7 separate regions of the Homo sapiens genome follow, and all the other regions are linked to region 1. Evidence: promoter capture Hi-C in human tissues and cell types (Jung and others, 2019). All regions are on one chromosome and are shown on one strand. Each heading gives the region's core, a stretch centred on a gene start or on the middle of the fragment in contact. The rest is flanking DNA. Distances are from core to core; before and after follow the strand shown. Region 1 holds the start of UBAP2 (ubiquitin associated protein 2). Region 2 holds the start of PRSS3 (serine protease 3). Region 3 overlaps KIF24 (kinesin family member 24). Region 4 overlaps KIF24 (kinesin family member 24). Region 5 overlaps UBE2R2 (ubiquitin conjugating enzyme E2 R2). Region 6 overlaps UBAP1 (ubiquitin associated protein 1). Region 7 overlaps UBE2R2 (ubiquitin conjugating enzyme E2 R2).

Evidence for each region. Contacts are between HindIII fragments. The study calls those that stand out against the background at their distance.
Region 2: a contact is called between a fragment that was not itself captured here and the fragment with the promoter of UBAP2 in region 1, in 3 of the 25 tissues and cell types used here (dorsolateral prefrontal cortex, liver and mesenchymal stem cells).
Region 3: a contact is called between a fragment that was not itself captured here and the fragment with the promoter of UBAP2 in region 1, in 2 of the 25 tissues and cell types used here (IMR-90 fibroblasts and small bowel).
Region 4: a contact is called between a fragment that was not itself captured here and the fragment with the promoter of UBAP2 in region 1, in 3 of the 25 tissues and cell types used here (liver, mesenchymal stem cells and spleen).
Region 5: a contact is called between a fragment that was not itself captured here and the fragment with the promoter of UBAP2 in region 1, in 1 of the 25 tissues and cell types used here (liver).
Region 6: a contact is called between a fragment that was not itself captured here and the fragment with the promoter of UBAP2 in region 1, in 1 of the 25 tissues and cell types used here (mesenchymal stem cells).
Region 7: a fragment that was not itself captured here is called in contact with the fragment with the promoter of UBAP2 in region 1 in 2 of the 25 tissues and cell types used here (hippocampus and liver).

The regions. Positions count from the first base shown.
Region 1 is chr9:34,047,064-34,050,966 of GRCh38, forward strand. It overlaps UBAP2 (ubiquitin associated protein 2), which reads right to left and starts at 1,824. Exons shown (of 29, transcript NM_001370062.2): 1 at 1,762-1,824. It also overlaps the pseudogene RN7SKP114. RefSeq lists enhancers at 934-1,790, 1,791-2,646, 1,927-2,456, 2,647-3,503, 3,504-3,903 and silencers at 1,607-1,656, 1,807-1,896. The HindIII fragment of the contact is 41,306 bases long and covers 1-3,903 here.
Region 2 is chr9:33,793,394-33,797,296 of GRCh38, forward strand. PRSS3 (serine protease 3) reads left to right here and starts at 2,168. Exons shown (of 5, transcript NM_002771.4): 1 at 2,168-2,220; 2 at 3,250-3,409. The coding sequence starts at 2,181. All of the region lies in intron 3 of UBE2R2-AS1 (UBE2R2 antisense RNA 1), which reads right to left. RefSeq lists an enhancer at 2,717-3,217. The HindIII fragment of the contact is 4,072 bases long and covers 266-3,903 here.
Region 3 is chr9:34,287,799-34,291,701 of GRCh38, forward strand. It overlaps KIF24 (kinesin family member 24), which reads right to left. Exons shown (of 13, transcript NM_194313.4): 5 at 2,376-2,591. Among named protein-coding and RNA genes, the nearest start is that of KIF24, 40 kb to the right of the region's middle. The HindIII fragment of the contact is 4,720 bases long and covers 1-3,903 here.
Region 4 is chr9:34,258,138-34,262,040 of GRCh38, forward strand. It overlaps KIF24 (kinesin family member 24), which reads right to left. Exons shown (of 13, transcript NM_194313.4): 10 at 1,459-1,568. Among named protein-coding and RNA genes, the nearest start is that of KIF24, 69 kb to the right of the region's middle. The HindIII fragment of the contact is 3,150 bases long and covers 558-3,707 here.
Region 5 is chr9:33,849,285-33,853,187 of GRCh38, forward strand. All of the region lies in intron 1 of UBE2R2 (ubiquitin conjugating enzyme E2 R2), which reads left to right. Among named protein-coding and RNA genes, the nearest start is that of UBE2R2-AS1, 32 kb to the left of the region's middle. The HindIII fragment of the contact is 6,885 bases long and covers 1-3,903 here.
Region 6 is chr9:34,200,109-34,204,011 of GRCh38, forward strand. All of the region lies in intron 1 of UBAP1 (ubiquitin associated protein 1), which reads left to right. Among named protein-coding and RNA genes, the nearest start is that of UBAP1, 23 kb to the left of the region's middle. The HindIII fragment of the contact is 7,642 bases long and covers 1-3,903 here.
Region 7 is chr9:33,903,590-33,907,492 of GRCh38, forward strand. All of the region lies in intron 3 of UBE2R2 (ubiquitin conjugating enzyme E2 R2), which reads left to right. Among named protein-coding and RNA genes, the nearest start is that of SNORD121B, 29 kb to the right of the region's middle. The HindIII fragment of the contact is 6,422 bases long and covers 1-3,903 here.

The DNA.
Region 1 (3,903 bases), core at 574-3,073:
CCCTTTCCCATGGCCTCATTCTCTCCCATGCCACCACTTTCGGGCATATTTCAATCACAACAAAAACCTTCCTTCTCTGAAAGGTTTCATAATTATTGAGGGTGAGAGGCAACAGGGAAGCAAATGGGGGAAATCAGCGCTGTGGGAAAATCTCTCGTCACACGTATCAACTAGCCATAAGTAGGAAAATCAGGAGTATGCTGGCAGCAAGCAAAAGGGCAGTTTGGGAAACTAATCACTTCTGCCTAATGATAAGAGAAGCCTTCAAAGCAATGGAAGGACAACCCTAGCGAAGGGGCTCCACAGGTGAGTGTATTGAAGGAAACTATCATCTCCAGGGAGTGGAATACATTCCCTTTCCTGAGGTAAAAGGGGAACACACCAATGTAGGATACGGGAGAGCTTAGGTATCATGTTCAACTTCCTTCCACCTTTCACAAACTGGCACTAAAACGGATACACAATTCACAGTGAAAAGTGAGGAATGCAATAACTAGTCGCATACCCCTTGTTGAAAAAAGTGCTGTCACAACGGAAGAGGAATATAAGAACTGGGTTCACCCAAGAAATTATATGCCCTTCAAATAAAAGATAATCTTTGGATACCTTATGGAGACCTGAAAAAACCCTCAACTAGCTGAGCACCGTGGTGCACACTGTAATCCCAGATACTCAGGAGGCTGAGGTGAAAGAATCGCTTAAACCCAGGAGCTGGAGGCCAGCCTGGGCAACATATGGAGACCATATCTCTAAAATTAATAGTAATTTTTTAAAATCTCTCAACTGTTAGGATACACTGGTGCTGTAGAAAGACAATAAGCCTAAATACTGGCAAACCATATACCTTCCTTGAATGTGAGGTAAAAACAATATCCAATAGAAGTGGTAGTAAATGACTGGATTACATCAAACAGGAAATAACAGTAATAATGATGGGATCAACCCCTAAAGCGAGCAAGCATTAGAGACCAGAGTGGTGACAGTTGAGATGCGTGGGCAACTAATTAGACTAAAAACTCAGGGGAAAATGTGGAAAAGCCGAGTGGGAAAGTGATTCAGAGGCAAACAACTGAGTTGTAATGCACCAATGAAAGAATAACATTTTGAGTATGTATTATTAACAGAGAGAGCTTTGCCGTTTACAAAGCGCTCAAAAACCTACATTAAATAATGAACTGTGATATAACCAGACTACAGGAACGGCGGGTGTGGAGGAAAACTGAGTCCCAATTGAGACCAATGCCCTACAGAATTGAAAAGAAGTAGAACTGAACTGTGACTCCGGGTAAGCCAGGAAAGGTTAGAGAGCGCATAAGTTGGGGCTATAACAGGGCCAGTCCCAAGACTAGCTACGGGCGTGAAAGCGGAAAGGTGATGAGATGGGACCGACAGCGTGGCGGGGAAGCTCCAGTCTACTGGCAGGCACCGAGGTGGGAGAGAAAACCACACCCTCCAGGGCAGAAACCCGAAAGGGGGGAGGGGAGGCACCCCTGGGGCTGGGTGGGGCCCAGCCGACCTGGACGGGGGAAAGTAGGAAGAAGCACAGGGCAACGTGAGGGGAAGAGGAAGGAGGGAGCCCGGGCCTGGACGTAGAGGGACCGTGGACCTGGCGAGTGAAGCTCGGCCCGGTCCTCACGGGTGGGCGCCGGGGCAGTCTGCAGGCGGTGGGGTTTCAGACGAGCTGAACCCAGAATTAGAAAGCACACGCTGCAGCGCTCAGGGCCCTGGAAGAGGGAAGGAGAGGGAGAGGATGGCAATTACCGCTGCTGCTCTCGGAGGACCCAAGACCCGCTGCCGCCGCCGCCGCTCGTTACCTGCCAATGTGCCTCTTACAAAGCGGCGGCGGCGGCACAGGCTGCCCAACCCGTCACGTGACCTCGCGTCACGGGCGAAGGAGGAGCCACAACACGTCGCTCGTGCGCGGCTTCAGAGTCAGCCTAGGCGGCGCGCGGCCTCTTCCAGCCACCACCTCCACCCCAACCCCGCGAAGCCAACCGCGTGGAGGTGGGGACCACAGAAAGGAACAAATAAGGGAGACTTGATAATATGTATTGTACTCGGAGTCATCAGGAGAGTATTACCCACCGCATACAAGGTGCCCACAACTGCAGCTCGTCGTCGCGCCGTGATGACCTCACAAAGCACCACAGGTTACTCCCCTGTGGCCGCCCTGTGCTCATCACGTGATGTGGTCCAACCACTCAGGGCAAGCCTGGCCTCCCAAATGTTGCACGAGGGGACCACGACTCCCAACATGCTGCACAGCCAAGGCGACCCCTACCGCAGCCTTTCTCCAGCGGGCTTCTAGACGAACCCCCTAGAGACCTTAGAGCCGAGGGAAGGCCGGGACGGAAAGCGGACTAAGCTGGCTTGAAGGACTAATACCATTGGATGCCGCCCGCCATGTGGCGGAGCGTGGTGCCTGCTGGGAGGTGTAGTCCTGGCGGGGGGTGGGGTTCCGCTCCCACGTTCCTGGGCTCGCTCTGCGCCCTGCCCCCTGCGCGGGAAAACGCCAACGGCTAGCAGCGAGAGCCTCGGCAAGGCGGAAGGTGCGCCCACTTTTAGTCTTTTTCAGTGCGGTTTTACTTTTGCCCTCCCAAGCCCCTTCTGGGTGAAAAGACTAGAATCTACTGAACGCCTACTCCAAGTCAGCCGTTTATTTCTGTTATATCATATAATCAACTCCTTGAGTCCAGGATTTTCCCTATTTAAGGATTTAAAAAAAGAACCTTAGAGTTGTTTGTTGACCGAAGAGACCCAGGTTTTCTGTCTTTAGAAAATTAATGACCTCCTCTCAATAGGATCTGACCTGTTGTCAACTCCAAGAATTACGAATAAATAAGATGATGGTTTATAATTGTAGCATGGTGTTTTAAAGTATTTTCCATTTACTGGCCTGTTTGGATGTGAGGGCGTTCTGGCTATCTTGTCACCCCATAGATCGCCAGGGCTGATTCGGCTGATCTGGCTGTCTAGGCGGGTGGCCCCTTCCTCCCGCACCTCTCCATGTGCGTCCCTCCCGAAGCTGCATATTCGGTCGAAAAGGAGGAGCATCCCCCATAGAAGAGGACAAGTCAAGGATATAGGAGTAGCTGCACGCCCGTGTTAACAAGCTCTCAAGGTCCTCTAAACAAGCTCTCAAGGTCTACTTACTGGCCTGTTTTATCCCAAGCTAGTTACATACAAGGACTTTGCAGTCCCGGCATGCCTTATCTCAATTGGAGCTTTCCTCTGTAATAACACTTCACCGGCTTGTGAAAATTAAATGAGATTATGTAAAATGCCTGCTTGACACATAATAAACCCTCAGTAAGTATCAGTAATCATTTTCACACTCTACCCATCGGGCCCAAAAGGTCTAAGTAAGGTAGAAAGGGGAAATTAGCTTATACTGAACTTTGTACAGGGCACTATGCTAATTACTAATTTGCTAGTTATTAAGTAAAACAATTGACATCTTAAACAGCCCTATCTAGTTCAAATAAAGCCTTTGTTATTCATCTGAATTAAAGAATGCTGCCGGGCGTGGTGGCTCACACCTGTAATCTCAGCACTTTGGGAGCCGGAGGAGGGCGGATCACAAGATACGGAGTTTGAGACCAGCCTGACCAACACGGTGAAACCCCGTCTCTGTTAAAAATACAAAAAAATGTCCGGGCGCGGTGGCTCACGCCTGTAATCCCAACACTTTGGGAGGCCAAGGCGGGCCGATCACGAGGTCAGGAGATCGAGACCATCCTGGCTAACACGGTGAAACCCAGTCTCTACTAAAAATACAAAAAAATTAGCCGGGCGTGGTGGCGGGCGCCTGTAGTCCCAGCTACTCGGGAGGCTGAGGCAGGAGAATGGCGTGCGGAGTTTGCAGTGGGTCGAGATCGCGCCACTGCACTCCAGCCTGAGCGA
Region 2 (3,903 bases), core at 1,052-3,551, 250 kb before region 1:
AGGAAAAACCCATATTATCAATGCTCCAAAACCTGGATACCTCAGGCTTGGCCAGTCATTTGTGAGCAGAGAGGTGTGTCATCTACATGGCAGTCATGGCCTGGATGGGTCTGGAACTGTGGCAAGGGAAGTCTCTGAGACAAGGTGCCAGGAGAAAGATGAATTCAATCATCTATTTCTGCCAGGAAGAAAAGCAGGAGGAAGGAATCAGATGCACAGTTTGTCCTCTGGGGACCTCTGCCTTGATCCTCAATAAATCTCCTTTTAGATGTCACCTGCAGCAATTCCCACAGTTCACAATGATCTCCATGGCTTCCGTTGGCCTTATGGTGAGCTCTGCCAAGATCTGTATTCTTGGGCAAGACAGAATCCTTCTGAATCTCAGTCTCTTCCTCTATAAATGGAAATAATTTTGCTCTGCACAAATCACAATTAGCATGTTTGTGGGAAGTCAAACTGTGAAACTCAGCATAACTGAAAAGCAATGTACCACTGTTGCTTATGTGAAAACTCTTGTAAAGCTGTCAGGCACCATGCACCATCTAAGTACAGCAGTGTTAGGTATGAGCCCATCAGTGATTAGAGGGGATGTGGGGTGGAGAGCGGGTCTCTGAGCAGTGGATCTCCTGGCTTTGGGGAAGCTGGCTCGTTGGCCATGCCAGGAGCTGAACCTGAAGGTACTCTGTGTGTCCTCTCAACTCCACGGGCCCCACATTCGCATTTTTTCCAATTCCCTCTGGTTTCCATTTGCTTCCTCCCTCTAGCCCCCTGGCCATGTCCGATCTCAACACGAAGTTTCTGAGCTTTTCTCATTTTGTTCACCATCTCCAGAACATCTCTGCTTCTTTTACTTTTCAAAGAATTTAAACTTGAACTCTGCTCACTCCTGCCCATCACCAACCTGAGCTCAGAGTTGCTGAGAAGGGAAAGCACCCTCATAAGGAAGCTCCTCCTTTCCTTACATCATTAGACTTGATCACAGACAGCATCTCCATCTCCACACTACTCTGGCCAGGTTGTGCCTCAGTCAATTACACAACTGTGTCTTAGTAGCCTTGGTAGGGCCCAAATCAGGATATTCTCTGGGAAGATTCACTTGATACTAAGCCCAGCATAATCTCACTGCATCTAAAATAGAAAATTCTAGACCCACCCCTCCACATCTTCTTATTGATCCCAATATGTGACCCATTTACCATGTGCTAAAATCTCTACCTACTGCTGATTCTCAGATCAGATGGTAACCCAGATTTACCATGGTCCAAACTCTGACATCTGATCAGGGGCATGTCATTCTGGTTCAGGCTGTCAGCCCTGAGCAGGTGAGTCAGTTTGCATCACCCTAAGTGCAGGTTGCCAGGACAACCGTGAGGCTGCATAAAAAGAACCTATGACAGGATGCACATGAGAGAGACAAGTGGCTTCACATTGAAGAAGGGGAGGAGTGCGCCATTGGTTTTCCATCCTCCAGATGCACTGAGTAAGCTCCTACCTAACCTGTGTCCCCTCCTTCTTTGAAACACTTCCCATCCTTTTAAGCCTTGGTAGGAAGGAGAGCCATCTGGAAGCCCAGAATCCTATGGAATGCTAAGTCTCCCTTCTCCTTACCCCTTAGTGTTGGAATTCTGGATACCCAAAGTCTTGGATTTGACCTTTGTGCACAGTGACTGCAAAGAAGCATATTCATATTCACAAAAATGAGCCTTAGATAAGACTTTCCTCCTCTCGTGGGGGCTCCAGGAAACTGAAAAGCCAAGCTTGTTACCAATGCTTGCCCTTCCTTAAGTACATTATTAAATACATCCCCAATAGTTAAAAGGACTCCTAGACACCCAGGCCATTCTCCCTCCTTCTAACCCTCATCTCCTCGGCCTACGAAAGCCCAGCTGTGTGATCCGGGGATTGGTTTCCCCTGTCTTCCCCATCCCAGCATCCTTCCAGGAAATAGCCAGTCTCCCTCTCTGCTCTCAGAAGGCAAGTTTCCTTATCACCTGTGAATCACAAACCCACAGAGTGGCCAAACGTAGCCGAGCTGATGCAAGACCCTGGCAAGGGGAAAGCTGCAGGTGTGTTTGTGCTGGGAAGAACTGTGACCCTCACCTCACAGACACCTCCTCTCCTGATTCTTGGAAGGGTATAAGGACAGGCCTTCCACCACCAGTCAGGCACACTCTACCACCATGAATCCATTCCTGATCCTTGCCTTTGTGGGAGCTGCTGGCGAGTTTCATGACCTGCCTCAGGCCCCACCCACCCCCTTTCCTGGCAGACACATGCCCTGCCATTCTTGCCACCTCTCCTCTTTTGACTGCGCTCTGATATTCTATTTCCTCCATCTGACATATCTCCTTCCCATCCTCCTTGGGCTCTCTTTAAGCCTCACCTGTTTCACCTTTTCCCTCATTTCACTCCCACCACTGTCATTCATCCATATCCGAGCTGTGGTTGGAGAAGCTGGGAAGGGAGACCAGGTGGGGCTGGCCCATGAAATGAAGTGGCAGGCTTCAGGCTTGGCTCCAAGAGCACCAGTATAGCACCACTATAGCTGCTCTTAACCTCGAATGCACCTGGGGAGGTTCAAAAATTACTCATGCCAGAGATTCAACTCTAGAAGTTCTAACTTCATTTGTCTGGGGTGCAGCCTGTGTACTGGGCTTTTAAGCTTCCCAGGTGATTTTTAACGTTTCCAGGCATGCCGCCAAAGTTAAGAATTGCTCTTCTATTGGCCAATAACAAAGTCTACCTTTGTTATGCCAAAGTGAGCCTGGGGCTGCCCTCAACTCTGCCCTCACTGCACAGATCTGAGCTATGGGGGAAGCTAGTCATGGCCAGGTCTACCCAGACAGGGGGTTTTCCTAGCTTAGCCAAAGTATCCTGACAATCCAGGGCTCAAATAGCCAGGGCAAGTACACAGGTGATGAATAAAAGAGAGAAGCACTCAGTGGGTGAGACAACAACATACCAACTGCTACCCCACTGGAAGCATTTTGAGGACATTCCTTGCATCCTCAGCCTGGTGTCCCCAGGAGAGATCTGAGCCCCTGCAGGGTACCTAGCTACGTGCCCTGCAGACACAGAGACTTGGGAGCCACATCCAGTGATGCTCACCAGGGGTGGCAGCGCTCCCTCCCTTGCCTGGCCTCACTGGGCTTGTTAAGGATTTCTAATTGGCAGGAAGCAACCGCAGGCTGGGAGCACCACCCCTAACATGCTACTGACTTGCCTTCTCCCTTCCTATTTCCACTCCAGTTGCTGTCCCCTTTGACGATGATGACAAGATTGTTGGGGGCTACACCTGTGAGGAGAATTCTCTCCCCTACCAGGTGTCCCTGAATTCTGGCTCCCACTTCTGCGGTGGCTCCCTCATCAGCGAACAGTGGGTGGTATCAGCAGCTCACTGCTACAAGACGTAAGTGTGGGGCCCCTGACTGCAAAGCTCCCAGCCAGGCTGCCTGGGAGAGCTTGGCTTCAGCCCAGGGAAGTACTGAGGTTGGGTAAGACGGATGGGAGAGGTGGTGGAAAAGAAAACTTGTTGACAGCAGCTGACTCTCCAGAGCAAGGCCAATCCATGAAACAGCAAGGGTTGTGGTCATAAAAGCAGGCAGGGATAATCTTGGAGTTGTCAGAGCTAGTGACAAAAGCAGGCAAGTACCTTTTGCTGGTTAGCTACACATTAAAGCGACCTAAGACAGAGTTTTTGAAAATACTGATGCCTGTGTCCTACCCCAGGGCAATTAACTCAAACTTCTCAGGAAGACAGTGTGAATACCAGTGAGTATTTAACACTCTACCTCTGGTAACTGTAGAGTGTATAGACAGAGCTGAGAACCGCTGCCTACACGAAGAACTCTCAAACCTGAGTATGCGTCAAAACCACCTGCAGGCTTATTAAAGCACAAATCA
Region 3 (3,903 bases), core at 1,005-3,504, 240 kb after region 1:
GGCAGGAGGATTGCTTGAGCTCAGGAGTTTGAGGCTGTAGTACGCTATGATTGCGCCTGTGAATAGTCACTATGTTACAGCCGCGTAACACAGCAAGAGCCCATCTCTGTTTAAAAAAAAAAAAAAAAAAGGAAGATCTAACTTTTAGAGCCCTGCTGTCATTCCTGAACATATTTCCCAGGCCTTAATCTCTGAGCCCACCCCAGAAAGATTCCTCATGGACAGCCTAAAATGTACTTCAGCTTTTATGCAAGGTATAAAAACAATTTATCCTCTACTTCTAGGAATTAATTTCAAGATCCTTAAGCTTTGTTTTCCAGTTTAAGAGGCACACTGAACATACATACTTTTGTCTACCCTTGTCAAAGCCCCACTATTATAGAAAATAAATCTTATTTAAAAATTGGTCAGGCACAGTGGCTGAAACCTGTAATCCTAACACTTTGGGAGGCCTAGAGAGGAGGATTGTTTGAGCCCAGGAGTTTGAGAACAGCCTGGGTAAGTAACATAGGGAGACCCTGTGTCTACAAAAAATAAAAATTAGCAGGGCATGGTAGCATGTACCTGTAGTCCCAGTTACCTGGGAGGCTGGGATGGGAGGATCACTTCAGCCCAGGAGGATGAAGCTGCAGTGAGCTGTGGTGGCACCACTGTACTCCAGCCTGGGCGACAGAGCAATACCTTGCCTCAGAAAAAGAAAAAAAAAAAATCAACAGGGTAAAGCATAACAGCATAAACAGGAAAGGGTGCCATCAATGGACCAGAACATTTCAGAAGCCCCAGAAAGGTAGGAAATAGATTAGATTAGACAATTAAATGGATATATATATATATACATGAACCCCACAGGCCATGACACTTGTAGAGTAAGCATAGGTCTTCCCTAGTGAGCCTCAGAGAAGCATCAAACCCAAGAGTTAATATATGCCTATTCCCCTGCTACAACTGAGGAATGCAAATATACAGGGCAATAAAATAATCTGGGCAATTCATTAAAGAAATGCGTTCAGAAAGAGCTAGATATCCTAACCTCCCTTCACCCAAATAAACCACACACACACACACACACACACACACACACACACACACACACACAGCACAGTGGCTTTTATTCCATGGCAATTGTTCTTTAAGGGAAGTGGGCATTCTGACTGGAAAGGGCTCCTAATGAGGGCATTGGAGCTTGATGGAGAAGCTGTGATTGAGCTAATTCGAGACTTCAACACCAAGAAGGTAAAAAAGAAAGGCAACTCTTCCTCAAGCATCCCCAGAGTAGCACCCTCTTTTATTTCGCAGTTGTTTGGTCAGGACTGAATTCTGAACACCTATACAATCTCAAGTGGCATATCTGAAGGTCCCCTTTTCACTGGAATAGTTATAGGAGAGAGGCCTGCCTAAGCCCACTCGCTGGCTTCTCCAGTTATGCTACTCAGTACCCTACTGACCCTCTACAATGGGGGCCTGCCCTATCATGGTCTCCCTATTGAACTGGAACTGCTCCCCCACTCCCCATTCCATTGCTTGCTTGGAGCATGCAAAACTTGTGCATCCTTTTGGACAGCTCCATAGAGGCTTAGATACCTTTGTTGCCGGGCTAGTCTCAAGCTGATTAGGTTTCCCTAGTCTTCCAGGAGGCTCAGCCTCAATTCACTCCTCCAACATCTCAAATCTGGTTAATTCTGTTATGACAGCCTTTAATCCTTCCACCTCCCCCATTCCCTCTAACCTCTATTCTCCCATTTCCTCCACAACTTCTTTTGCCTCCTACTCAGTTTAAGTCATCTGTTTCAACCTAAACAAAACTTCATGCAAGAAAAATATAATAGGTGTTTAAAAGCAGAGTTACTGAATACATTTCTAAATTACTATATTATGTTGCAAGAGCAATAGTTTAAGCCTAACAAGGGTTAAAACTCTAAAGAGAAGATTTTCTTTTCTTCTTATTGATTTCAGAAAACTATCATGGTGTTTACCCTAAGATTATTTAGAGGAAAAACAAGAGAAAGTAGAAAACATTATTTATAGTTTTTCCAGTATAATAATAGGTCAAAAGAACAGGAAGGGGTTTAAGTACGTGTTGATTTCCTGACTTCCTGAAATTATGACCTTCTTCATAGACCAAAATAAAAGGGAAAGTCTTTTGATAGACATTAGAATATTGAACACTTTAAAAAATATTAATGAAAAGCTAATTTACATTTTCCTATAGCTGAATTGACAGCTAGAAAATATGTATCTGATGCAGGAGCCTCATTTCACAAAAGGGCACTAATGTACCAAAGCATCTCATTAAAGCCTATGATTCAGTGATTCTCCGGGACTCTGGCTTAAAATAGCGATGAACAGATTTATCGCTTCCCACTCATATTCAGTACCTTTTTCTTCTATTTAGGAGGTCATAAAGCTGTCCACAGTAAATTTCATAGAAGCTGATCCACACAAAGAGGTGCTTTCTTGGCTGGGACACTTCTAGTTGCCTGAAGATATCTTTGGCAGCTAGAGCATACAATCCTGGGTTCTCATGAGTTCCTATCATGGTGTAGGTCTTTCCAGCACCTGTCTGTCCATAAGCAAAGCAAGTGGCATTGCCTCTGGGGAAAGGATAATTTGCATTACTTATGCATATTAAGAGAAGTATTAGTTTACCCATAGATTTTTAATGACAAAGGTCAAATGTAAACATAGAATCTTAGAGAAAATTCAGCTATAAACACATAAACCTTTAAGGAGAAGAGGACTTTACATTATAAGAACACAGGAAGAGGAAAAAAAATTCTCAAACTACTACACAAGTTTTCCTTTTTTTTTTTTTTTGTTTTTTGAAATGGAGTCTCACTGTCAACCAGGCTGGAGTGCAGTGGTGTGATCTCCACTCACTGCAACCTCTGTCTCCCGGGTTCAAGTGATTCTCCTGCCTCAGCTTCCTGAGTAGCTGGAAGTACAGGTGTGCGCCACCATACCGGGCTAATTTTTGTATTTTTAGTAGAGATGGGGTTTCACCATGTTGGCCAAGCTCGTCTCGAACTCCTGACCTCAAATGATCTGCCCACCTCGGCCACTCAAAGTGCTGGGATTACAGACATGAGCCACCACACCCAGCCTGAGTTTTCTTATAGTAATTTTCTTACAGAACCAGTAAGAGAAACAACTCTAGAAGATAAAGAAACAAGGGCTTTAAAGAAACCACTTAGCCAATAAGCATTTACTGAATTCCTACCCCATGCTAGGTGCTTTAGAGGATCCTAGAGATGATCTACTATTAATCTGAAAAGTTAAATTTAGTGAAAGAATAGAGAATTAAATACGAGAAATAACAGGAGATCATGTGATAAGCAAGATGGTAGTGACCACTCATAATTAAGGAAGTTTAGATAAAGGGGAAATTGATGTAAGCAAAGTATTTGAGGAAGGACTCACAAGAGTAGGAATTGGGCTGGGCCTTGAAGGCAGAAGCTGAAAAGCAGAGAGCTTCCACTGTGGAATAGGAATAGCGTGAACAGAGGCCACAGTAGTAAAGATGGCAGCAGGCACACCAAATCTTGAGGGGAAAAAAAAAGCCTGGGCTCTGGTTTCTGCCCTACCATTAACTAACCATATGACCTTAGGCAAGTCCCTTCACTTTTCTCTGTGCCTCAGTTTTCACTTTTATCAGTAGATTAGTTTCTAAGTAGTAGTAGATTGGTTTCTAAGATCCCTTCCAGTTGTGATGCCCTATGATTCTAAGTGAGAATCATTGCTCTTGTATGTGGTTACATGTGTGCGTACACACCCTTTATGAGTGTGAAGAACTGCAGAATAAGAGGTGGAGAATGGAGTTGGGAGACCAGCCTGTCAATCACAGTATGTTTTACGAGGAGTTGGAGACCAAGATTATCTGAGTGTTGTGGGATTCACCCACACAGT
Region 4 (3,903 bases), core at 883-3,382, 210 kb after region 1:
GTTTCAGCATGAGATATCCCTCTGTACCTGAATGAAAAAGAGCAGTGTTGGCTGGTTGTAGTGGCTCACATCTGTAATCTCAGCACTTTGGGAGGTTGAGGCAGGAGGACTGTTTGAGCCCAGGAATTCAAGACCAACCTGGGCAACAGAGCAAGACCTCATCTCTACTAGAAATAAAAAAATTAGCCAGACATGGTGATGCGTGTCTGTAGGCCCAGCTACTTGGGAGGCTGAGGCGGGGAATATTGCTTGAGCCCTGGAGTTCAAGGCTGCAGTGAGCCATGATCACACTATTACACTCCAGCCTGGGTGACAGGGTGAGACTCTGTCTTTAAAAAACAAACGAGAAAGAACAGTGTCTTCTCTGAGGATGTAAGCATGCACCCAACATTCCATGATCAGAAGAAGCCTTTTGGAAATCACCACAGCCCCATGTAAGGGACAGGCCAGAGACGCCAGTCTCAGAAGTGCACTGTGTTTATGCAGGGCCCACACTGCTTCCTGGAGAGAGGCCAACTCAGGAGTTCGTGTCCACCACTTACCTGCAATTCCACAGAGTCCTCTTTTTCTGCAAACCACCCCCTTTCAGGCTTCTCTAGGAAGATGAGTTCCCTCAAACCTGCTGGGACCTCAGGAAGCAAAACCTCCAGAAATACACAGGCTTGTGCTCATTCCATGAAAGGAAAAATGACTTGTCTATTCCCAGGGTTTCTCAACCTTAGCACTATTGACATTTTGTACCAGATAATTATTTCTTGAAGGATGTTTAGCAGCATCCTTGGCCTCTGCTCACTAGATGCCAGTAGCACTTCTTCCCAGTCATGGCAATCAAAAACATCTTACCTACTAGGAGAGCACATGTGACCACAGGGTGAGAGATGGAAGGGATCCCAGCAGATACCACAGTCACCCACAAAGAGGCCTGGCCAGGCAGTCAAGAGTTGCTGGCTCTGACACCAACTCCTAGTGAGCCTTTGGAAAGATCCTACCCTTCTCTGGACCTCAGTTTATCCTCTAACATGTTTGGGTTGGGCCCTTCTGGACACAGATAGCTCTAAGTGATTCTGCCTTGACAAGTAATATGTCTTCTATCTCTTACAATTTGGGCTGAGGCCAGCAGGAAGAAAACAACACTGAGCCTTCCACCCATTAATATTTCACTTCTCACTAGCCATTTAAAAGCCACTGACAGAATTAACTCCTGAACAAGGGAATGTGTCATTTTCCTCTTGTCATGCTTGCAAAGTGACAGGGCCTACCAGGTCACAGTCTTCAAATGACTAATTGCCAAGAACAAGGCTGTGGCGCTCAAGGTCAGATCCCTATGTGTGTGTGAGTGGGAGAGACATGTGCATGCACTTGCACACACACACGCGTGCACACATGCTCACACACGCGTGCTGCACAGACATGCACATGCACACTTACACACAACCTGCCATCTGGGAGCTGACTTACCGGTCAGCATAGCGCAAGGTGTTGAGAGTGTGTTCAGTGGCCACGTGGCTTGGTGAGATGTTGGCGATCATGCAGGTTTTGGCATTGCCGATGAAAGAGTCCTTCAGGACCTGTCCAAAACAGAAGGCAGGTCAATGAGTGAAGTCAATTAACAAAGTGCATACTGACTACTTACTAGGTGCAGGATGCTGGGCCATAGTTCCCTTCTGTCCACAAAAAGGTAATTAACATTAACAAAAGAAAAAATACAAATGGCCAATAAACACAGAAAAAGGTACTCACCACATCACTAATCCAAAAAATGCAAACAAACCATTAAAAAAACCAATATTTTTAACTCATTAGATTAAGAGACTAACGATGCCATTCCTTGGTGAGGGTCCAGGGAAATGAGTACTCTTCTACGCTAGCATGTACCATGAACTGGACAAGCTTTCCAGAGGGCAGTTTGGCAATATGTATCAAAATGTAAAAAGAAGCCAGGTACAGTGGCACTCACCTGTCTGTAGTCCCAGCTACTCAAAAGGCTGAGGCAGGAGGATCGCTTGAGCCCAGGAGTTCAAGACTAGCCTGGGCAACATAGCAAGAACCTGTCTCAAAAACAGGAAAAAGTATGTTTTGGTTTGGCAATCACACTTCTAGGACTTTATCCTAAGGAGATAATTGCCCAATTGACCAAAAAAAGTATATATGATATTCATTACATTATTTATAATAGTAATATTTAGTAAAAATCTAGGTATCTATAAACAGGGAACAAACTAAATAATTATACACTGAATATAATAAAACCATTAAAAATGATTATACCTGTACTTAGGAACACAGAAAGATATCTAAAGCTTCTATCTTCGAGGGAAAAAGGTGTATGACTCCATAACTCCGTAAGCAGATCCATATGAGGCTATGCGGGCAGAGAGATGACTAGAAGGAAGTTCACTAACGTAGCAGTGTGTGGTTATCACTGAGGTCTGGGACTTTATCTTTTACTTTCTTCTTTATACTTGTATGTACAATTGGAATTCTTATGTTTTAATTAAAAAGAAACACATTTTCTGGAAATGGGGAACTTGTCTTAAAAAATAACAGAGCTGGCTGGGGACGGTGGCTCATGCCTGTAATCCTAGCACTTTGGGAGGCCAAGGCGGGCAGATCACCTGAGGTCAGGAGTTCAAAACCAGCCTCGCTAACATGGCGAAACCCCGTCTCTACTAAAAATACAAAAGTTAGTGAGGCATGGTGGCACACACCTGTAGTCCCAGATACTCCAGGGGCTTGTGGCAGGAGAATCGCTTGAACCCAGGAGGTGGAGGTTGCAGTGAGCCAAGATCACACCACTGCACTCCGGCCTGGGCGACAGAGTGAGACTCCCTCTCAAAAATAAATAAATAAATAAGTAAAAAGCAACAGAGCCAATGCCAGAATCAGGACTAACCACCTATAAGTAGGTTCCTGGGTCCCTGGTTAAAATCATGTTTGAGAAGACCTAACCTACAGATCACCAACTGTGATGGGTAAGGAACTATGTTTTTACAGGTTCTGCCCAAGTACTATGGAGCCGCTACTCTAGCTGCACAGAATAAAACTCTGCCCATGTGCGGGGCTGGCTTCATCCTGCAGCATACAAAAAAATCTTCTCCTAGACATCTCTCTACCTTGTCTGTCTTCCACTGTGCACAGGACACAAGGCGAAAAAGAACCCAGGACACCCACAACTGTCTTCACAGCTGTTTATACCTAGGTACACCCTCCCATGCCACTCTTCCGCAGCCATTATGAATGCTGATTTAACATCTACTGGAGTTTTTTGTTAATAAAGAGGCACACTTTCATGACAGAAAAACAAAACAAAACAAAAACCCTATTTGTTCCACTAAGAATAATCATAGTTAACATTTATGTCATTTTTTTGTGTAGTGTTTTTTTCCATGTCGCACATTTTAAAAATGATAAAAACAGAAAGTGGTCATACAGTACATGATCTTTTAACATGAAAAGTTGCAGTTTCACCTTTACTCCCATTGTTACTTCCAAATAGATCCAATGCTGTTTCTTCTGCATCTTTTTAAACGTTTTTCCCTGTGTGGCTGCGTAATAGTAGAAATCATATAGGCAATCACATTATTACCTTGTTCTACAGCTTGCTTTTTTCACATCACAATAGATCTTGGTCATCTTTCCTATCAGTACATATAGAAAATCTAGCTCATTCATTTTAACTGCCTGAAGCCATTATTTTTTTGTGCCGAAACAGTGGTCTAAGTCTTAGAGCCAAGAAAGTATCAGGTAGCTACGTCACCCTATTCAATGCAAAGGCTTAGAGATTTCACTAATTCAACATTTTCTTTTCTTTTTTAAGATGAGGTCTCTTTTTGTCGCCCAGGCTGGAGTGCAGTGGCGTGCTCACAATTCACTGCAGCCTCAACCTCCAGGGCTCGAGTAATC
Region 5 (3,903 bases), core at 803-3,302, 200 kb before region 1:
TATTGAGTGATTAATATGTGCACTGCTCTGTGCTGAGTAGGGAAATATCCTTATCTTTTTGTGTGTGTAGGTGTGTATATACACAAACATATATATGTATACCGAATATTTAAAGAAATATCTGTTATATATAGGTATATATAAAGAGATATGTAAGTAATATCAAACAACCATTAGTTACTTAGCTGTGTGACCCTGTGTAAGTTTCTTAAATTCTTTGTATTCATTTTCCTTATTTGTAATACAGGTTTGTTGATAATAACTGCCTCATAGGGTTGTTTTAAGAATCAAGAGTATGGATGGACGCCTGTAATCCCAGCACTTTGGGAGGCTGAGGCAGGCAGGGTGCTTGAGCTCAGGAGTTCAAGACCAGCCTGGACAACATGGTGAAACCTCATCTCTACTTAAAAAAAAAAAAAAAAAGTCAGGCGGTGTGGTGGCATGTGCTGCTAGTTCCAGCTGCCTAGGAGGCTGACATGGGAGGGTGACTTGAGCCCAAGAGGTGGAGGTTGCAGTGAGCCAAGCCAAGATCTTACTACTGCGCTCCAGCCTGGGCAACAGAACCAGACCCCCTCTTTGTATTTCTTACACCAACCCAATGAGACAAGTACCACTGACCCAATTCTATATGTATAGGAAACTAAGGTTCACAGGGAGTTGTCCAAGGTTTCAGTGATTAGTTTACATTCCTGGTTCTGCAGCCTATACAAGTTTGTCTGCCTATATCTATATTTTTTCCTGCCTCCAAAGCAGGTGACACTTGGATATTTACACAGAAATTTGTCAGGCAGTTGTTTGGTAAGAGGACCAGAGAAACGCACTGGGCTGGAGTCTGTGACAGAGTACAGCCTTGAGAGAAGTACGTGGGGCATGGCAAGCAGAAACTAAATATGCTATCAGAACAAGAATTTTGGAATTAGAGCACACAGTGGTATTCAGCTTGGCGTCCAGTAATTAGACCATTAAGGATTGGATTGAGGCTGAGGATCTAGAGCTCTAAAAATCAAGTCAGAATTTCTCTTAGGAGTTAGGGATGCCCAGATTCTGTGGATGTGTTTAAAGTGGCAGCAACTGCAAAGAGGATCGCTGCAGAGACTGGGCGTGAGGCTGCCATTAGTTGCTTCATTTCTCAGTCACCTGTAACCATTCTTCATTCCATGATACTAGATCTACTATTCCCTGATAAATCAGCTGAACAGACGAGCCTACCAAACTCATGGTTTGATGCCCTCTGCAATACCAAGTTTCATCTGTGTCCTTATGGCTGATAACTGACTTGCATATCTAGCTTCCCGACTTCTGGCTTAATCTTAACCTCTTAAATTTGCCTGCCCCTACAAATCCTGCCAATCGGGATTCCTTTTTGCCTTCATATTACTGATTTCAAACTTGTTTTGTTCCTTTTTTACATTTAATTGTTTATTTATAAAAATAGTTCACATATATAGTTTTAAGAGTAACATGTGGTGTAAGACTTACAATAAGGAACAATCAGTTCCCTACTCTTCCCCATTATTCACTAGCAACCCCTTTCAGCTCTTATAAAAATGGAGAGAAAGTGAGTCTTTTGTTTACTTCCTATGGTTACCTCCAGCATAAAGCCACACTTCAGGTGAGCCCTGCCCCCAGATGCAGTCACTTAGGCCAATATTTACTTAAACCAAATTTTTTGGTTATTGTTCTAGAGTTCAGTTCATAATCATACTTCTCATTAATACTTCTTAAACATTTTGGCCTTCCAGGCCTTTTCTTGCTTGTTGGTATGCATATGTGTATTAATTTCTTTTTACTTCCATTCCCACTTCTATTCCCCTCTGAATCCTTAGGCAAACATTGTAGTATGTTTGTTCGTATCCTTTGGTAGGCACTCTTTTTAAAAACAATTAAAATAAAAATTTTTAAACAACCACAAACTTACAAATTCAAAGAACTATTTTCCTGAACCATTTGAGGGTGAGTTGCCAACCTCTGATAGTTTCACCATTCCTCTGAATATTTTAAAGTGTATTTCCTACAGACAAGTGCATTCCACATCATTATAATTATTATCAACAATTATGAAGTTAATAATTCTCAGCCCCCATTTAGTTTTGTCAGTTATAATAATGTTCTTCATAGCAGAAGGATCTGGTTCAGAGCCAAGTATTTGCTTTTAGTTATCCTGTTTGTGTAGTCTCTTTCAGCCTGTAATTGTTCCTTAGTCATGTCCTAGACTTTCATGACCTTTATAGTTTCGGCAGTACAGGTCACTTACTTTGTGGAATCTCCTTCAATTTGGGTAAATTTTCCCTATGTTCTTTATATTCTTTTTAGGTGGTACATGATTTTGATTTGTCTCATTTCTGGTGATGTCCACTTGGGTCACTTAGAAGATGTTTGCCAAGCTTCTCCACTATCAAGTTACTTTTTCCTTGTAATTCATGAGTATTTTGTGAGGAGGTGCTTTGAAACTACATAAACATCCTATTGCTATTGAACTTCTAATTTATTCATTTATTTATATCTCAATGGACTCATCTCCTATTTCATTAAATGGGTAGTAATGGTATACATTCACATAAAGTGTGTTTTACATGCATGCATATTACATTGGCATAAATAGTATTATTTTAATATATAACTATATAAAAGTATTAAAATATTATCTACATCGAGAAAGTCATATCTAGAAGGGTCAGGATAATTATCTGATTGGTAGTAAGACTCCACCGTAATGAGATAGGTGGGGTTCAACATATTTAATTAGGCCGGGTGCAGTGGCTCAGGCCTGTAATCCCAGCACTTTGGGAGGGTGAGGGTGAGGACTGCTGAGACCAGGAGTTCGACATCAGCCTAGGCAACATAGTGAGACCCTGTCTCTACAAAAAATAAAAAACATTAACCAGGTGGGGTGGCATGTGCCTATAGTCCCAGCCACTTGGGAGGTTGAGGCAGGAGGATCGCTTGAGTCCGCGAGGTTGAGGGTGCAGTGAGCTATGATTGCACCACTGCATTCCAGCCTGTGTGATAGAGCAGACCCCATCTCAGAAACAAAATTTGATCACACTAGTGTTATTTCTAGCTGGCCCGGAGTTACAGGAATCCAGCTGCATGATCCAAATCTGACCTGGTCCTAGCTGTGGTTTGCTGCCACCTGGTGACAGTTGTCCACTTGAGTATAAATATAAATGGGGACAAATCTGGCTAAGACTTCCACACATTGGCAGCAATTTCAGGTATGGTTAGTTGATGCCAAGTTCTTTGGCACAATCCTGGGAGATTGGGCGAGGAGAATGCTGTGAATGAGAAAGACCCATTCTTTGCTTCCTTGCTTTCTAAGACAGGTGGCCTATTTTCTTCTTCTAGGCCTTGCTTTGCCTCTGTGAGGGCCATACTGAATGGTAGGTAACTGCGTTTACTGTTCTATTGATGATTTTAATTTTATCTTAAGTTTTCTTCATATTAACAAGTATGGGGCCGGGTGCAGTGGCTCAGGCACTTTGGGAGGCCGAGGCAGGTGGATCACTTGAGGTCAGGAGTTCAAGACCAGTCTGGCCAATATGGTGTAACCCTGTCTCTACTAAAAGTACAAGAATTAGCTGAATACAGTGGCGCACACCTGTAATCCCAGCTACTTGGGTGACTGAGGCATGAGAATTGCTTGAACCCAGGAGGCGGAGGTTGCAGTGAGCTGAGATTGCACTGCTGCACTCCAGCCTAGGCAACAGAGCAAGACTCTGTCTCAAATAAATAAATGAAAATTGTAATTAATTTTTAACAAAGGAAAAAAAAGCAGTTAAGATGGAAGGCCCAACTGTTTTAGCAGTAAGAGAAACCATGTGGATGATTTGTGTAGGAACTATTTTCCAGCACTTCAGAAATTTGTTTCAAGTATTTATTTAAGGCCTACTATCTGTACTTGGT
Region 6 (3,903 bases), core at 949-3,448, 150 kb after region 1:
CCTCAATTTGGTTTTGTCTGCTGTTTTCCTCGTAATTAGACTGGGCTTGTGGATTTTTGGAAAAATACCTGAGGTAAAGTACCTGTCTCAGTTATATGAAATCAGTATGGACTTGAGTATTTAGTTTATATTTTGGATTAAAGTCCCACATTGATTTATTTTGTTGCTCAAGTTGTTTTATCTTTGGCCATTGAGAGCTCTTTCAGATTGGCCTTGGCCTTAGAATCTGTCATTTCTCCAGAGAATAGGGCTTGTTTCTCTGTCAGTCTGATCTTCATTCCTTTGTAAAGACTTCATTTGTGGTATCTTGATAACTTTTAGGAGCCACCCTTTTAGGAGGGGGTTTGTTAGTGCTATTACGGTTTTATTTTTTAAGAGATTATGATTAGGATGGATAGATGTTTAGTTTGCCAACCTGATCTAAACTTTTAATTTTTGCTAAACAGAATTTGTAGCATTTAGAGCTATATGCTTTAGAATTTTTCATTGTATGATGTTTAACATACAGAAAAAATATGAATGTAAAACATCTAAGTTATGAGGCATAATAATAAACATTTGCAAGCTTATTAGTTGTCTTGAAAACTAGAGCATTACCAATACATTACTATTTATTTATTTGTCTGTTTCTGTCCTATCCTATCCTTTTACTACTCCACAGAGTTAGCTGTTCTCCCGAATTTTGGGTTTATCATTTCCTTCCTTTTATAAACCACATGATATATATTCCTAAATAATATATTGTTTATTTTTGCTTAATTGTGAGCTTTATAAAAATGTTAAACTGTATATAGGCTTAAGTGATTTTATTTTTTTTTGAGATGGAGTTTCGCTCTTGTTGCCCAGGCTGGAGTGTGATGGCGTGATCTTGGCTCACCGCAATCTCCGCCTCCCGGGTTCAAGTGATTCTCCTGCCTCAGCCTCCCGAGTGAGTAGCTGGGATTACAGGCATGCGCCACCATGCCTGCCTAATTTTTTGTAGTTTTAGTGGAGACGTGGTTTCTCCATGTTGGTCAGGCTGGTCTGGAACTCCTGACCTCAGGTGATCCACCAGCCTTGGCCTCCCAAAGTGCTGGGATTACAGGTGTGAGCCATGGCACCCAGCCTTGTTTTAGTTCTTTATTTTAGAAAGTTCCAAACTCATAAAAGTAGATTTGGCTGGGCATGACTCATGCCTGTAATCCTAGCACTTTGGGAGGGTGAGGTGGCCAGATCACCTGAAGTCAGGAAGTTCGAGACCAGTCTGGCCAACATGGTGAAACCCCAACTCTACTAAAAATACAAAAATTAACGAGTGTGGTGGTGTGTGCCTATAATCCCAGCTACTTGGGATACTGAGGCAGGAGAATCACTTGAACCCCAGAGGCAGAGGTTGCAGTGAGCTGAGATCGTGCCACTGCAGTCCAGCCTGGGTGGCAGACTGAGACTGTCACAACAGCAACAACAACAACAGCAACAACAAAAATGTAGATTAATCCTGCTTTGTAAAAACTCTTATTTTTTTCTACTCACACACCACCACAGCAATTATCAACACAGAAAAAGAATTCTGTGGCCAAATGTGTGGGCAGTTTTCCCCACACACCAAGCAGCTGCCACCAGTTGGGTGTTCTCCAGTTCAATGCCGACACTGTCTACCTGGAGATAGTGTCAGATCCCACTGGTTGAATGCGCAGTCTCCAAGATTGCCCCCTAGCACTCATCAGTCACAAGTCTGGGCCTCAAGTGCTTCTGACCACCAGCTTCACTCATGTCAGGGTTCCCTCGGTCCTCTCTTTAGGTTTAATTTGCCAGAGTGTTTCACAGAACTCAGAGAAACTCTTTTATGTTTACTGGTTTATTCTAAAGGCGATTGCAAAGTATACAGATGAAGAGATTTGTCTGGCAAGGTAGGGGGGAAGGTGCACTGACTTTCCATATCCTCCCTGGGGTGTCACCATCCACGAACCTCCGTCCAGGTGTTCAGCTAGCCAGAAGCTCTCCAAATCCAGTCCTCTTGAGTTTTTATGGAAGCTTCATGATGTTAGCATTCCTTCTCCCAGAGTACAGAGTGGGAGTCTCCGTCTTTTTCTTTTGAGACACGCTTTCACTCTGTTGCCCAGCTGGAGTGCAGTGGCACCATCTTGGGTCACTGCAACCTCCACCTCCGAGTAGCTGGGATTACAGGCATGCACCACCACGCCCGGCTAATTTTTGTATTTTTAGTAGAGATGGGGTTTTACCATGTTGGTAAGGCTGGTCTCAAACTCCTGACCTCAAGTGATCCTCCCGCCTCAGCCTCCCAAAATGCTGGGATTGTAGGAGTGAGCCACCCTGCCCTGCCTGTGAGAGGGGCTTAAGACTCACAATGAGAAAGGGGTATTGGGAGAGATAGAGTTCTACCTTAGGACAGTTGAAGGGAGGGTGGGAAAAGATTTGAGAGATTCTGTTTTCTGAGGCCTGACATACCTAGCATTATAACAGAAGACTCCAGCAAGGGCTATGGGAGTTATGGGCCAGAAGCTGTAGACAGAAACGTGTGTGTGTGTGTGTGTGTGTGTGTGTGTGTGTGTGTGTGTGTGTGTGTGTGTCCCCGTCCCCGTATATGTATGTATCATAACACCATACAGCCCCAATAACTGTCAATCTTGTTTTATATACATACCCTCTGCCCAGTTATTTTAGAGCAAATCCCAGTCATATCATTTAACCTGTCAAGTTATTTTTGTATATCTCTGAAAGATCACATAAATTACTATAATAGCATTATCCTACCTATAGAAAATGAACTTATTCCTTAATATTATCAAATATTCATGTTTTCTCAATTTTTTTATTGTGTTTTCCTCATGTGTTTGGATTGGGACTCAAATAAGGTCTGTAAGTTAGTGATTGCTTGAGATGTATTCCTTAAGATCTTTTTCAGTCTGTAGGTTCTCTTTTCATCTTGCTTTTTTTGTGTTGAAGGAAACTGAATCACTTTTTCTAAAAGTTTGCTACAGTCAGGATTTTGCAGTTTAATTCACTACTATTTTAATTAGGATTTGGGTATGTATGGATAAAACATAAATAATCAGCTAGGTGTGGTGGTACATTCCTATAGTCCCAGATACTTGGGAGGCTGAGGCAGGAAGATCTTTTGGGCTCAGGAGTTTGAGGCTGCAGTGAGCAATGTTCATGCCACTTCACTCCAACCTGGGCTGTTCAGAGCAAGACCCTGTCTCTAAAAACAAGGATCAACAAAAATTAAATATGCTTTCATTTCTGGTTCTTTTTTCTCTTTTCTCTGTCAGTTTTTGGTATCAGTGTTATGCTGATCTCATACGAGAACTTGGAATTCAGCAACATTCATTCAGCAGGAGTTACTGAGCACTACTGTGGCCGGGCACTATGCTTGGTGTAATGGTGAATGAGACAGAAGTGGTATTTGTCCTCGTAGTGCATAAAGGCAAGTGGGGAAGACAGACAATAAACAAATCCTGAATAAATTGATAAGCTACAAATATATATTTGTTTCCATTTTATGTGTTGGAATAGATTAAATAAAATAGGAATAATCTGTTTCTTAAATATTTAATAGAACTTTAAAGACATCTGTTCTGACATTTATTTTAGCATACACATATTTCATAAGCATGTGAAATTACTTAAGAACCCCTTTTCTCTCCCCATAAATCTTTGACACCGTGTGAAGTTGTTCCATCCTTATATTGTTTTTCCTTTAGGCCTACAGTGTTCCCCTGGGGATTTGAGTTTTCAAGTTTTGTGAACAAGGCTGTATTATTTCTGTGGGAAAAATCATTCAGGTTTCACATGATGGAAACAGAATGATACAATCCACTGAGTTTGAAGACTCCAGGAAGAACAAAAAATTATATTTGCAATTACTTATTTCAGGTCAAATTAATAGCTTCTAGTATGATA
Region 7 (3,903 bases), core at 917-3,416, 140 kb before region 1:
CCTTATCTCAGCTTAAAGTATTATGAACATTTTTTCTTTTAAAATAGGCCTACTTCTCATGTAATCCAGTCTTTTGGAGGCAGAGGATTCCTTTTATACTTATCTGCCCATCTGAAACTGCCTTTGTTACTTTGGGTACTAGCATCATTTTGTTTCCTCACACTTGAGTCCCCAGGCCACCTGAGCCACAATTTAGGGACATTCCCCATACTCAAATCAAGATTGTTTTCCCTGCTTTTATGCTGCTTTGTTTAGAAGCTTCCCAACTACAACTAGTTATGTGGAGTTACACCTAACATCTTCACACAGCTCTACAAGGTATTTGGGTTGGAAATTGTTTACCTTCTTAGACTTTTTATCACTTAGTTCTATGTAATCATTGGGTAGTCCTTCAACATTTTGATCTTATTGGTGTTTTCGGGGGCTGTGGGATGTTTTGTACACTTTTTGGAACCTCACCTGTCTGGAATACCTGGTGGTGCTCAGAACTCTGAGCGGAAGTCAGGAAAGCACTACCTAATGAGCAGATGTGGAATACTTTCGCTTATCCCTTTTGTTTCTGTGTTCACTTGGTTGTGAGACAAGGGAGGTTTTAAAGTAGTAAACTGTTATATTTTCTAACAGGTCATTTATGGCACTGAAATATTAAGAGGGAAGATACAAGATGTAGTGGAAATGGGCAACTATTTTCCTTCTTGTACCTCTCTGCTGCTAAATTATCTAGGGCCAGCAACTGTCTAAGGGTTCTGGGCTCCATGTCCAGTTTATGGGTGGCTGTAGTAAGACAGCAGTGGAGATGGCATAGGGTTCATCTCATCCTGTTTTGGAGTCTTATCTGCTGCCTCTCACTGGCATCTGAAAGTGATTCCATATTCACGTATTTGGTTTTCTTCTCCATAACCACGTGTACTCAAGACTATTGTTCAGCACCTCAATGGACATATTTATAACATAAAGTGGCAAATGGAGCACTTTTGTAACTTGAAGAATAAGGGACTCCAGTTACCTTCAAGAGTCTAAGTCAGTCTGTATTATCAGATCTGGTGAGTAGTGAGAGTTAGCCAACCTGAAAAGGAAGAATTTTAGGGATGCAGAGAATCAGCCAACTGGTGTTCACTAAAGGCTCGGTAGCTTGCTACCTCTTGGGAAAACCAGCATACTTCTTTTGAAAGAAAACATCCACAGGCCTCCTCCTCCCAGAGGCCCAGGATTAAATTGGTGGGGCTGGAGGTGGTGGGGAGAGTTTCTTCCTGAATTGGAAAGTTTTAAGGAGTAGGCATTTGTCAGCAAGAATGGAGTTGGGAGTTGCCACACGTCTTTGATTAGAAGTTCACAGCATTATGCCTCTTCCTGATGGAGGAAACAAAATGTGCCTTAATACATGATTTGTCTAGAATGATGTGGGAGCTTTGGGGATAGGGTAGGGTGGGAGTGGGAGTAGCAAAGCCCTCAGACTTTGCTATAGAGTTCACAGCTGCTTTCTGTGAGACACCATCCCCAGAACTACTATCTGCTATAGGCTCTGGGATGGTGAAGTGGTCTTGGTGTGGATTTGCTTTATGTTGAAAGAGGCATACATAATGTTTTCTTTTTCAATTTCAAAAATAAAGCGTGAAACCAAATTTATTAACCCAATCAAGAGAGGCTGTTGTTTGGTATAAAAGAGTCTGTCTCAGAAGTGGGGTAGGATATTTTTCTGTCTAGTCTTAAGAACAGAGAGCCAGAGACATCACCCCTAGCATTGGGTGCCAAAGTAAGCACAGTCAGGGGAAACAGGCATAACCATGCTGTTCCTAAAGCTCTTTTAAACCCAATTCTGGAACAGTGTGGTTTTATTTATTTGCTTCCTTGGTTTTTGTGCATGGGGTCCCACTGCCCTCAACCTGCCAATTCCATTCTCTGCAGATGATACATAATTTGGGCATTTAAAAACTGTAGTTGTATTCCTACCTTGCATTCTCAGGGATACATCAGTCAGCAGCAGATCCAGCACTGCACAGAAGGAGGTGTTATATTTGTTGGTTGCTTTAGCAGCCTAAAGAGAAACTTTATAATAATGTAAACCCGTTAAGCTACTATATTTTACCATCAGTTGCCCTGTTTTCCCTATCATAACAGGCTTCTTTATTCTTTGTCATGATGTCCTCTTTAAATCCCTCCCCCACATTGAAACATGCAATGAGGACTGAGCTTTAACTAGTCATCTGTAGTTACTGGCCCATCCTTTGATAGAGTGGAAATGAGAGATTTTAAGGACCCAGGACAACTAGAAAGGTCAGGGTAGAACCCAGAGTCAGTAAGAGTGGTAGTAACAGTATGCAGGATTTAGGTTTGGCTCCAGAGACCTGGACTTCACACATCAACTGTCATCACATTACGCTGGGTCTATAAAACTCAATATCTAAATCAATCTGCGTGTGTGTTTGTGTGTGTGCACATGTGCATACATGCATGCTTGCCCATGATTATGGCGTGAAGTAAGTTCAGGTTTTGTTGTTGTTGTTGTCGTCGTCGTCGTTGTTGCTGTTGTTGTTGTTGTTGTTGTTGTTTTGAAATGGAGTTTTGCTCTTGTTGCCCAGCTGGAGTGCAATGGTGCGATCTCAGCTCACTGCAAACTCCGTCTCCTGGGTTCAAGCAATTCTCCTGCCTCAGCCTCCCAAGTACTTGGGATTACAGGCATGCACCACCATGCCCAGCTGATTTTGTATTTTTAGTAGAGACAGGATTTTTCCGTGTTAGTCGGGCTGATCTTGAACTCCCAACCTCAGGTGATCCGCCCACCTCGGCCTCCCAAAGTGCTGGGATTATACTTGTGAGCCACCACACCTGGCATAAGCTTAGATTTTTTGGTTTTTAGGAATAAGCCCTTTCTACTTCTCCCATGCTGTCTGGAGGGATGATATATACATGGGAGGTGGGACCAGGGGAAGGTGCCAGTCTGTAATCCTTCAAAATTATGAACTTTTCTTGCTTGGTTTCCAGGCAGACCCTCGAGCCAGGTCTTATTTGTGATGCTAGGGCTATCACAACCCTGTTAAAGTTATGCTTATGGTGACATAGTAGCTAACAGAGAAAGGGTTATCGACATGTTGAAAATGGGCAAATGGAGTATTACGCATTGGGTCATACAATCCTAATTTCCAATTTCCCTTAAATACTTCTTTAGGCCAGGCGCAGTGGCTCATGTCCTTAATCCTAGCAACTTGGGAGGCCAAGGCAGGTGGATTGCTTGAGCCCAGGAGTTCAAAACCAGCCTGGGCAACATGACGAGATTCCATCTCTACCAAAAAAATTAGCCAGGCATGGTAGTGTGCACCTGTAGTCCCAGCTACTCAGGAGGCTGAGGTGCAAAGATCACTTGAGCCCAAGTGGTCAAGGCTTCAGTGAGCTGTAATTCTGCCACTGCACTGGAGCCTGGGGGCCGGGTGAGACCCAAGTTTGCTTTGTCTTTTAAACACATATGAGCTCTGCAGAACTTCACAGCTTGATTTGCTGTTGGCTAGTCTGCAATATATATTATATATGATGTGTTGGTCTTCATTTTCTTTGAGGGTTTTTATTGTTTACAAACTTATTTTTTATTCAGAACAAGATAGCTAAATAACCTCTGACCAAAGATAACTGAAGCAGGCAAAAGGATCTGAAATATGAACCTCAAGACTGTAAAGTGAGGTGCTTTTGCCTGTCCTTTTTTTCTGTGTTTCCTTTCTCTTCTTAGCATTTTTCTCTTTTGGCCTAGATCCTCTATCCTGAAAAGACCTATCTTATTGCCTCGCTGTGGCATAAAGAGGGGCAGAAGGAGCACATTTATTTCTGGGAGTATCTCTAACTCCTTGAATGGTGGCAGTGGGAATTGTGTAATGAACCACAGAGACTAAGAACTCTCTGGCCCTCATTCTTATC